Linked DNA regions of Homo sapiens: region 2 is linked to region 1. The links are contacts of gene promoters, found by promoter capture Hi-C in human tissues and cell types (Jung and others, 2019). All regions are on one chromosome and are shown on one strand. The core of a region is centred on a gene start or on the middle of the fragment in contact, and the rest is flanking DNA. Distances in the headings are between cores, read along the strand shown. Region 1 holds the start of BARHL2 (BarH like homeobox 2). Region 2 overlaps LINC02609 (long intergenic non-protein coding RNA 2609).

Region 1 (6,027 bases), core at 410-2,909:
GGTCCCAAGTGGATCCGCAGTGACTGTTTCCTTTCCAAATGAGCGCTCGCCGAAAGGGGCCGGGGGACAGAGGTGGACGGACTGCCGCGGGGCGCGGCAGGGGCGCGGGCTGCAGACCAGCCGCTATGGGTCCTGAGCCCCGCGCCCGCCCGACACCGCAGTGAACCGTGGCTGCCCTCGCCACCAGAGAACGCCTCGGGCATTAGCTCCCCCGTTCGGGAGAAAGCGTCTGGCCAGGCATTTTTTCCAGCTGGAGACCAGGCTGGTTCCCCAGCTTGGAGCCTCAGGCCTCGTCCTCCCCGAGAGCGCCTGGTGGACGCGGACCCGGCTGTGTCCCTCTCAGGGATCCGCCTCCCGCCGGGCTGAGCCCGAGCGCCTGGGTTCGTCGGGCGAGAAATCAGAGCCCAGAGCCGACCCGCCCGCTTATGCAAGGCTCCGGCGCCTGAAGTGACACACTTTTCTGTGGATTCCTTCAGGGATCTCCTTCCTCCGCTCTTAATGTCTTCGGACTATTCCCGCGCGCGTTTGGGGAGGCTGCGAGGGCCGCCGCGCTGGAGCCTAAAGGTAAGTCCCTTCCCGTCCTCTTCTCTCTCTCTTCTGACTTAAGAAAACGGGCGAATCCTTGCTACTTTTTTTTTTCTTTCTCCCCTTTGGTTCCCTTTCTCTGGTCTCCCTCTGATCTCTTCCTCCCTCTCCCTTTGCCTCGCACTCGTGATTGTGGACACCGGGACCACTGGACTCGGAGTTCGGCTCAGGGCTGCGGGCTCAGGGATGTGCGGGTTCTCAAAAGAGCAGCGGAGTCCGAGCCGAGTCCGCTGACGGGCTCACGAGCGCTGCGCCTATTGGCTCCCTGGCACGTCGGCGTCCCTCGCTCGCGCGGGCGCGGCCAATAGGGGCGCGGGGCCGGACGCGCGGCCTCGGTGGCGGGGGCGCGGGCCCGGCGCGGCGCGGCGCGGGGAGCGGCGGTAGTGGCCGTGACGTCACGGGAGGGGGTCGGCGCCGCCCGCCAGCAGCCGGATTACAAGCGAACGCGCCCGGCAGCGGCCGGAGTCGCCCGGCATCGCGTCTCCGCCGCTTCCTCCTTCTGTGCCTGCTCCTTCTCGTCGTCCTCCTCTTCCTCCTCCTCCTCGGGTTGCCGCAACCGCTGCGGCCGTGTCTGCCCCGCAACTTTCCAAGAAAGTTCAGAAACTCGGCTACGGGGCTGCCGAGTGGCGCGCGGCTGCCACCTCGGGAGCCGCGGGGGAGTTCCGAGGGCGCGCGGCCGCCCGGGCTTCGCGGTCGCTGCACCTGCCGCGTCCGCCGCCGCCACCGCTGCCGCCCGGTGCCAGGCTGTGGGCAGACCCCGGCAGCGGCGGCGGCGGCGGCTTTGGCGTAGCTTCCCGCCGCCTGCGCCTTCGCCTTCGCCTGCGCCTTCGCCTTCGCCTTCGCCTTCGCCTGGGTCCTCCGCGCCGCCACCGCCGCGCCACGTGCGCAGTCGTTCCTGGAGCGCAAGTTCCGAGTTTTCTCAGAAATTTTTTTAACTCCCCCCGCCCCCCGCATCTTTTTTCTTTCCACCCCTACTTTTTGCATAAAAGAAAAAAAGTTGTGTCGAAAGTATCCACAGATTGCCACTTCCCAATTACCCTTCCTTCTCTCCCCGCCCCACTTTTTTTTTTTTAAGCGGCGGCAACATTGTTTGGTGTTTATTTTGTTTTACGATCGATAGCTTTCTTCGCTGGTTCGGGGCGGCTGCTGAACGGCGGAGTGGCGTGGACCTCATGTAGCAATGACAATGGAAGGGGCCAGCGGGTCGAGTTTTGGAATAGACACGATTTTGTCCAGTGCCAGTTCAGGCAGCCCAGGCATGATGAATGGAGATTTCCGCCCGCTCGGTGAGGCCAGGACCGCGGATTTTAGGAGTCAGGCCACCCCATCTCCCTGTTCGGAGATTGATACCGTAGGGACGGCGCCTTCTTCTCCTATCTCAGTCACCATGGAGCCCCCGGAGCCGCATCTGGTAGCAGACGCGACCCAGCATCATCACCACCTCCACCACAGCCAGCAGCCGCCGCCGCCGGCCGCGGCCCCGACGCAAAGTTTGCAGCCTTTGCCCCAACAGCAGCAGCCGCTGCCGCCACAGCAGCCGCCGCCGCCGCCCCCCCAGCAGCTGGGCTCGGCCGCCTCGGCCCCCAGGACTTCCACGTCTTCTTTTTTAATTAAGGACATCTTGGGCGACAGCAAACCTCTGGCGGCATGTGCACCCTACAGCACCAGCGTATCCTCTCCCCACCACACCCCGAAGCAGGAGAGCAACGCAGTGCACGAGAGCTTCAGGCCAAAGCTCGAGCAGGAGGACAGCAAGACCAAACTCGACAAGCGGGAGGATTCCCAGAGCGACATCAAATGCCACGGTGAGTCCCGCCACCCGGCGCTCTCGGCCGTCTAGCTTGTCCTCCTGGTTCCCAATCTCCCCTTCAGCCTTCAGCAGATCTCTGCTGGGGAGCGATTCCAGGAGCTTCTCGGGCGACTGGGCGACGGTCAAAAGACTGCAGCTGAAGGGAGGCCTGGGCGTGCGATGTGGGGACTCCTCGAAGTTCTGTTTATTGTTCTACCCCACAACCTTCACGGCCATCCAGCTCCTTCCTTTGTTTTATTTAATTTTAATCTACTGGGGGTTGAGGGGCGGCGGAGGGCATCCGACAGGAAATACTTTTCGTTGATAAAAGGGATGGACTTGGGGTTTTTCTAGCCTAGACTTTGGGAATGGGAATGGGGGGAGGTAGGAGAGAGAAACCACTTAGCTAGCGTGGGTGTGATCACAACCTGGTGTTTATTCTTTAGTACAAGTGATTTCACCCCCCCCCCACTTTATTTTCTTAACATCATCACAGGAATTATCGGTTTTAATGGAGGAAAAATTTCTGAGTTCATGAACAGAGCAACTTTAAAAAAATTAGATTGTGGTTAGCCCGTAAAAATTTGTAATAAGTTTCTTAAAAGCACCCTTCTTACCCTATGGCCTCAACTGAGTATCTGTATCCTACAAAGATTTTTGGCCCCTTACAAGTACTTAGGAGGTAGTATTTATAAAAATAAAATCTTATGAAATTGGATTAATCTCTTTTTTGTTAAAAAAAAAATAAGATGACAATGGAAATTGTCCTTCAACTCCCTTTTTCCATTTTCTCATCAGACAATTTCATAAGTAAATGTGGTAGTCTTTGCATGGCAAAAGTTTTAACATACCAGGAGAGCTTTTTCTTCCTTTACAGACACATTGTTTATTATTATTGATCCTTGTTTTTCTGGTAAAGAAATGTACTGACTGGAAGGTAGGATGTTGGCTCCTCATTTTACTATTATAGCATTAGCATAATAGTGTCCAAAACAGATGTACAGTCTGGTCTGGCGATTTTTTGTGCACCAACCTCCCCAGTGGGTCAATTAGAGAGATTATTGTTCTTCCTGCAGGGAAGATCAAGGAGCACTGCACAAACGGGTACAAACAGGGAGGGATTGACATATCGATTTCCCAGCATTTCAGTAAAAAACCAAAGTTGACAAATAGAATCCGGAAATCTCCATGCTGTCACCTGGATGGGCTCAGTGATTTTGAGCTCAACTCGGTGTCTGGGTGACATATTCTTTGTGAAGCTTTAAAAGACCTGATGCAGGTGGCTTCAGAAAGCTTGATTCCAACATTTCCCAAGTGCATCTGAAAAAGTAAAACAAACACCTATAACTTTCAGAAAAGAGAAAAAAGTAAAATGAAAAAGATGCTGCCTCCTCAAAAAAAAAAAAAAAAAAAAAAGAGTAGAGGGACCCTTTGAAAAATCACCACATCAGTGAAACAAAGTCATACTGAAAACAATAAAGAAAAGGGACAGCATCTCTCTCAGTCAAGGAAACAATAACAAAATAACCCTTTTCAAAAGTTTTATTTAAAAAAATTTTTACTTTTTAACTTCCAACCATGTGAAGATCAGACACCCTTTTAGACCCCCTTTAGAAACTCTAAACAAGGTCCCATACTCTCCAGTCTGAAAACAATCCTCTTCCTCCACACTCAGGCTAAGGCGTGAGTGTGTGTGTGTTCTAGGGGTGGCAGAGTGCAGTCCCCCGAAGCCAGTAGTTGGCTTGGGAATGTGGAAGTGTATGCCAGGAGGACACTCAGTCCTTCCCCATTCCAGGCTAACTTACCACCGTGGCTGGGTTTCTATGGTAGGGACAAAGGAGGAAGGAGACCGGGAGATTACGAGTAGCCGTGAGAGTCCCCCTGTGAGAGCCAAGAAGCCTCGAAAAGCAAGGACAGCTTTTTCCGACCACCAGCTCAATCAACTGGAGCGTAGCTTTGAGCGGCAGAAGTACCTGAGCGTGCAGGATCGCATGGACCTGGCTGCAGCGCTCAACCTCACTGACACCCAAGTCAAGACCTGGTACCAGAACCGCAGGTAAGGGAGGCACTTTGGGGGAGCAAAGGTGTCTGGCCATTTAAGTCATGATCATTATACCAATCTTCTTCCCTCCTGGCCTCCAGAGACTCTAAGGACTGAGAGTGACCCTGGAGTGGGCACTTGGGTGCTTTAAGGATGGGGCAGGGATGAGCCACACCCCCAAGGTGAGAGAGACCAAAGGGCAGCTGGAATTTGGACAATTTTGCAATTCTATGTGCTTTAACAGGTGCTACTTTTCCTCTGAAACCCGAGCCGCTGGAATTCCCCCCACTTCATCCCCAAATCAATGAAGCCACACCTTCTCAAATTGAGACATCTGTGCAGCTGACACTTAGGTCCAGAGAGCCTGCGCGGTGCACCCCTTGGGCCCACCCCAGGCTGGTTCCAAAGGTTTGTAGCCAACAACACGGCCCGGCCCAGCTATTGCTATTCCCACAGAGCTGTCCCACCAGCCTCGGCGTAAATGTCCTTGCTTTGGCCTGTGAGGCGGCTGGGAGAAGCAGGATCCAAGCCTTGGTCAGTGTAGCTGCAGAGACTAGGAGAGCCCAGCTGGGTTAGAGTAGGTTTGGCAGCCGCAGCCTGGAGAATCGGCGGCTGGCCAAGCATCCGGACAGGGAGAAGGAAGGAGTGTGGGTCTGTCCCCTGTACTGGCTGCCTCTGCTGTCTCAACATGGAGCTAGAGTGCTGCAGAGCCTGCCTGGCACTGCTCCTTCTCTAGAAGGGAAATTAAGAAAGCAAAAGTGACTGCCAGTGCTCGCAGGGCCACGAAGTGTAGAGTGGAACCTGGGCAATCTGAGGCAGAGGTTTTGCTGTGTTTTCAAGCCTGGCACTCATCTCCTTGTCTCGATTTTCTCTACCCCTCCTTTTCTCCCGTTTGTGTTCTAATCGTCCATAAGTGCGGTTGGAAATGCCCATCCACTTGTCATCTTTACCATAATTTTCTGTCTCATTACATACGGTTTCAGCCACCCTAATTCTGTCGGAAAACATTAGTGTCATTTGTAGCCAATTTAAAATGGGCGACATGTTTATTAATTTGGCTGGAGCTGCCGGGTATGGATGGCCCACCAGCCCTGCGTTCCTTCATAAGGTATTTGAGCAAACGCCCGCTCTCTTCTTCCTAGCAGGGTGTGCAGCGGGGGAGGGAGGAGACTGAGAAAAGCTGATCACAGGTTTTAATTGTTACTTTATCTCTGAGGAGGAAATACCTTGAAATGCATTCACCCCCACCTCAGAATGGCCAGGAGGTACTTTGCCCTTGGGAGAACCCTCCCTCAAATGAATTCCATTTTGAGACCTTGTTGCCATCCTCCCCTTAAGCCCCCTGCCCACTGTAAGGTCCTGTCAGGCTTATGAGAGAAATATGTCTCCCAGCCCTGGGGACTGAGAGGGGCTGGGGTCCCTGGCTTAGGAGTCTCTGCATCCCTTTGTTTACGGTTTCTTCTCTCACAGCCTGGCGGGGAAGGAAGAGGGGCTGAGAGCAGACTCTTTGGGATTGTTGGGAGTTGGGAGATGTGGAAGGGGAACTAAGGAAGGAGGAAAGTGACTGCTTGTGGAAGTCTCCTTTGGCCCTAAGGAAAGTTTCCAGAAGTAG
Region 2 (5,843 bases), core at 1,158-3,657, 83 kb before region 1:
TAGCGCCCTTGATAAGGGCAAAGTCCCACAGGTCTTCTTTCTCTCCCACTCTCCACCTGATGGTTGAGCTCCCTGCTGCCTCCAGATTTCCTGATGACTTCCTATCAGCACCCCTAATCTCTCTGGTACCTGTAAGTAATACATTTCTTCTGTTTTAGGCATTCTGGTTTCAATTCCTCATTCCTCATTGTGCTTCACCTGACACAAGCACTTGAACCTAACTTTCCTCCTGGTCAGCCCTCTCCTAGAGGGTGGCTATCTTGGCTTATTGCTGCTCTCAAGAGAGAGAGCTCAGGATCAGATTAGAAAAAAATCACAATGTAGAAGATAACATGGGACAAAATATAGATTGCCTTGGGTTTAGCAATGACTTTTTACATATAATACCAAAGGCGTGATACATGCAAGAGATAATAAGCTAGACTTTATTAAAACTAAAAATGTCAGCCGGGTGCGGTGGCTCATGCCTGTAATCCCAGCACTTTGGGAGGCCGAGGTGGGCGGATCACGAGGTCAAGAGATCGAGACCATCCTGGCCAACGTGGTGAAACCCAGTCTCTACTAAAAATACAAAAATTAGCTGGGCGTGGTGGTGCTTGCCTGTAGTCCCAGCTACTCAGGAGGCTGAGGCAGGAGAATCGCTTGAACCCAGGAGGCAGAGGCTGCAGTGAGCTGAGATCATGCCACTGCACCCAGCCTGGTGACAGAGCGAGCCTCTGTATCACAAAAAAAAAAAAAAAAAAAAAAAAAAAAAAAAAGAGAGAGAGAGAAAATGAACAACTTAATTTAAAAATGGACAAAACACTTGAACAGACACCTTGCCAAAGAAGATACACAGATGGCAGATAGGCAAAATAAAAGATGCTCCACATCACATGTCATTGAGGAAATGCAAATTTAAACAACAATGAGATACCACTACATGCCTATTAGAATGGCCAAAATCCAGAACACTGACAACACCAAATGTTGGCAAGGATATAGAACAATGGGAATTCTCATTCATTGCAGGTGGGGATGCAAAATGATACAGCCGTTTGGAAGACAGCCTGTTTTTTGTTGTTGTTGTTTTGTTTTGTTTTTTTTTACAAAACTAAACATACTTCTACCGTATGATCCAGCCATTGAGTTCCTTGGTGTTTTCTAAAAGAAATGGAAATCACCTTTACACAAAAATCTGCACATAGATATTTATAGTAGCTTTATTCATAATTGCCAAAACATGGAAGCAATAAGTTGTCCCTCAGTAGGTGAATGGATAAATAAACCGTGGTACATCCAGACAATGGAATATTATTCAGCATTAAAAAGAAATGACTATCAAGCCATGAAATGACATGGAGGTACCTTAAACGAATATTACCAAATGAAAGAAGTAAATCTGAAAGGTTACATATTGCATAATTCCAGCTATATGACATTCTGAAAAAGGCAAAACTATGGATACAGTATAGAGGTCTCAGTGGTTGCCAGGAGTTGGAGAGAGGTAGGAATGAATAGGGGAAGCATGGAGGGTCTTCAGGGCTGTGAAACTATTCTGTATGATATTATAATGGTGGATGCATATCATTGTACATTTGTCCAAATCCGTAGAATGTACAACATCAAGAGTGAACCCTAATGCAAACTATGGACTTTGGATGATAATGATGTGTCCGTGGAAGTTCATCAGTTGTAACCAATGTACCACCCAGGTGTGGGATGTTGAGAATGGGGGAGGCTGGCTGTGTGTATGTGAGGTCAGGGAGCATATGGGAACTCTCTATACTTTCTACCTCAATTTTGCTGTGACCTTAAAACTGCTTTACAAAATAAAGTTTATTTAAAAGGGGGGGAGGGGAAACAAATAAAACAAATCACCAACAACAACAACAACAACAAGAACAAGATTAAGTACAGATCCTGAGCCTTGACAGAGCAGCCCCAGAAACCTTTGTTTTCTCAAGGTCCCATCACAAACCTCTGCTCTAGCCTAAGCAGCCTATTTAAGGTGCCCCAAATATCCCTTTTCCTTTCCCAGCATCTTCCCAGCTCACAATGTCCTCTTCCCCCACTCCTACCCTGTCACTCAACCACATTCTTCAGTGTTCAGTGCTGGTTCTACCCCTCTGGGAGAACTTCTTAACTTATCCTCACTAGAAGGGATGTCTCCGGCCTCTGCACTCCCCTGCACCTGGGCCAGTCATCTGGCTCTTAACGTTGGCTACCCTGTGGAGTTAGATAGAGCGCATGGTTTTTATGGATGTGTAGTAGTTCTCTAGTGTGCAAATTCTTTCAGAACATGTATTTTGCTGTATGATTTGTGTCATTGCCCTCAGACTTGTTTGTATTTAATTCAAGGATTAAATCAAAATATCAAAACTTACATTAAAATTTCAAAGCAATAAGTGGCCACAAAGCTTCCACACTGGAAGATGCATCTCACAGTCCCTCAGTGTTATAGTGTCACTGGTGGGAATGACTCTGAAGCAGCATGCAGAGCCACCTTCTGGGCTCCAAGGTGATGAGCCCCTGGGAGTTACTATTCCTGCCTCCTTAGTGAAGACCTCGGGCTCTTCAGGATTTTCTAGGGGGTCGCTTTAGTCTGTAAAACCTTACATGGCTTACTACCAGAGGGGTCACCCCTCTGTATGCTCACCCTGGGAAGAGTGAGATGAATTCACTTCCAAGACTAATGATCTGAGAGCCTTTTCCTGGGGCAGCAGGCTCTCCGATCTGGCAGCTGTCCTCTTCCCCTGTTGCTCTGCTGCACTGATTTGCAACTAGGCAGATTTGACGGTGGGGGTGGGAGAGAGCATGCAGAAGCGCCCCCACTGACCTCATGTGCCCTTCCCCACCTAGCCTCAATCACACCCATACTGACTGAGAACCATGGCTCCAACAGTTAAGCCTTTAACGTGAGGGAACACTGTTTTCTCAACTAGGCATATTCTGCTAGAAATATCAGATCCTTTTCAGTGTACCTTAATTTTACAAATATTTCAGATGAAAGTTACTTTGCCCTTGCCCCAAATTACCTGAGCCATGATCTCAATCTGATCATTTTATTTTAATAGTCCCAACCTTAAAATGTTCAAATCCACCTTATTCTGTAGAGAAGTCCATGTGTCTGCAGAAACACCATGTTTCTTTGTCTGTCCTTGTGAGTCTGAATAATTAAACAGGATTTTGATGGCGTGTGTGCCATGTGTATTTATTGTGCACACAGGTAGATACATGCATAACATATTAATTGAATTATTTTAAAAGCATAAATATTTTGCTGGGTTACAGAAACACACACTAAATATCTAAATCTACAAACTGCTGACAAACAGCACCTTTTCTAACAAAAGAGAGCAGTTTAATAACAGTGTTAGAAAGCTGGCAATATGTTTGCTAAAATCTTTAATTAGGGACAGGCTTTCCCAGAGGCTTCTGAAGGCAAAAGGTGTAAATGGAGAAACTGTCCCAGCCTGCATGCTCCGCGGTGGCTGTGTTCCGAGCACAGATGGGCTGGTGAGGAAACTGTGAATGGACAAATGATAACAGACTACTCTGTAATTCCAACATCAGCTCATTAGCAATCTGTCAGAGATTTTAATATTTATACTGGTAAAAATGCAGAAATCACACGATCGTTACGCGACAGTGTGTGTGTCTCACTGAAAAGGCCATTATCAACGGATTGGCATAATGGCTATTAATAAAACAAAAATGTCGCGGGAAGCACAGGCATTTGGATGCTTTGTGCTCGTTAGAAAATGATGATTTTGTGTGCTTTTAGGCCATAACAGGAAGCTGAGATAACAATGGTTTCATGATGGAAATCATTAATAAATAAACAACCAGGCCAGCATGGTGGAAAATGTGAAGGACATGAAGCCATACCAGTTTCCAAAAGATGAACGGTGACATTTCTCAGTTCTGAAAAATCCTCTGTGTCAGCAACTTTAAATTCCCTTGGATCACAAACCTGGTTTCCAAATGATTTTAAACTTGCTAGTCAGTGGGTTCAAATAGTTGCCATTGAAAACATATCTATTTAGAATGCATGTACACAATGAGCTGAAACTGATGAAGAATCAGGGTTTAGTCTCTGAAGGGAGAAAGAGAATGAACATTTATGAGGTATCTATTGTATGCCAAGTAGTTTATATTTGGAATCTTGTTTAATTTTCACAACATTCGAGTGAGATATTTCTCCCATTTCACAGGTGTAGAAGTAGCTGAGCCCCAGAGAGATTATGTGACTTCATGAAGATAGTACGGCTGGTTAAGTGGAGACAATTTTATTTGAACTTGGTTCTTTACGGTTGCAAAGCTAATCTTTTTTTCCATTGCATTATACTGCCTTTCAAGTTGTCTATCATGTACACTGGGGAGTAGCCTTTTAGGATCCTCATTACCTTACTATGGACAGGCACAAGGGCCCCAGAGACTCAGGGATCAACTTATATGAAGGCATCCTTTTTTTATTTTATTTTTTTTTGAGATATGGTTTTGCTCTGTCTCCCAGGCTAGACTGCAGTGGTGTGATAACAGCTCACTGTGGTCTCAACCTCCCAGGCCTCAGCCTCCCAAGTAGCTGGTCTGACAAAGCCATCCAATTTTAATGGCACAAATGGACACTGACTTATTTGAAGTATATACTTTAAAATTTCTTTTTGGGGAATAGTTCTGCTTCAATATTGAGAAATGTCTGCACCTGATACAAAGAGTTAAGCTAATGATCTGTGAAATCTAGTCAAAAAATTTTTGAAAGAAAAGAGTTCTTATATTATGATTCTATAAAGCTTAAAAATAAGTCAGGACAATGAAAACGGTTAGAAATCAGGATGATGATTTCCCCTGGAGAGAACAGTGACTGCAAGCAGGCACCGGGGGACTTCTGGGATCAGGGTATTGCTCTATTTCTTTTCTTTTTCTTTTTCTTTTTTTTTTTTTTTGAGATGGAGTCTTGCTCTGTTGCCCATGCTGGAGTGCAGTGGCATGATCTTGGCTCACTGCAAACTCTGCCTCTCAGGTTCAAGCAATTCTCCTGCCTCAGCCTACTGAGTAGCTGGGATTACAGGCATCTTCCACCATGCCTGGCTAATTTTTGTATTTTTAGTAGAGACAGGGTTTCACCATGTTGGCCAGGCTGTTCTCGAACTCCTGACCTTGTAATCTGCCCGCCTCGGCCTCCCAAAGTGCTGAGATTACAGGCATGAGCCACTGAGCCTGGCCTTGCTCTATTTCCTGATCTAAATGCTGGTTACACCACTGTGTTAACTTTGTGAAATTTTGTTGAGTTTGTAAATTTAGGATTTGAACACATTCCTGCATGCATATCCTACTTCCGTAACATTTACCAGAAAAAATAGAGGACAAATTTTTTTTCCTAACATGATTTAAATTGGAGTCTTGCCTGTTCAATTTTCGTATTTTGTGGCCATGGGCAAAATTATTCTTTTATGTGAAGCTTGTAATTGGAAGTCCTCCTTCTGGAGTTTGGAGACTATAAGCTGGGGAATATGTCTCCCTTGTCCATGTGGGTGAGTATGTGTATGCTCATTTAAATGTGCTCATATCCTAGAAATGGAGAAATACCTGTGTTCTTTTACTGCCATCTTTCAAATTCCTGAGAAACCTAAAATGGGAATGGAATGTTACTCAAGTGCAAATTTTATACAAGTGAGCTTGGGGATGGAGCTGTCTTATTTGGTGACCCCTTATTGGTAGCAATTTCCAGTGCAAATGGCAAGGGCAGGCACCCTCTCCTCTCAGGAACCAACATCTCCAGCCAGCATGTTGAACTCACTCTCACCTTGTGTCTTCGCCCCATCCCTGCTCAGTTCTTATTGCCAGGCTCTGCTGGAAGA

The links. Contacts are between HindIII fragments. The study calls those that stand out against the background at their distance.
Region 2: a fragment that was not itself captured here is called in contact with the fragment with the promoter of BARHL2 in region 1 in 2 of the 25 tissues and cell types used here (hippocampus and mesendoderm cells).

What each region holds. Positions count from the first base shown.
Region 1 is chr1:90,712,934-90,718,960 of GRCh38, reverse strand. BARHL2 (BarH like homeobox 2) reads left to right here and starts at 1,659. Exons shown (of 3, transcript NM_020063.2): 1 at 1,659-2,390; 2 at 4,205-4,430. The coding sequence starts at 1,766. The HindIII fragment of the contact is 10,681 bases long and covers 1-6,027 here.
Region 2 is chr1:90,797,166-90,803,008 of GRCh38, reverse strand. All of the region lies in intron 1 of LINC02609 (long intergenic non-protein coding RNA 2609), which reads left to right. Among named protein-coding and RNA genes, the nearest start is that of LINC02788, 36 kb to the left of the region's middle. The HindIII fragment of the contact is 6,888 bases long and covers 1-5,843 here.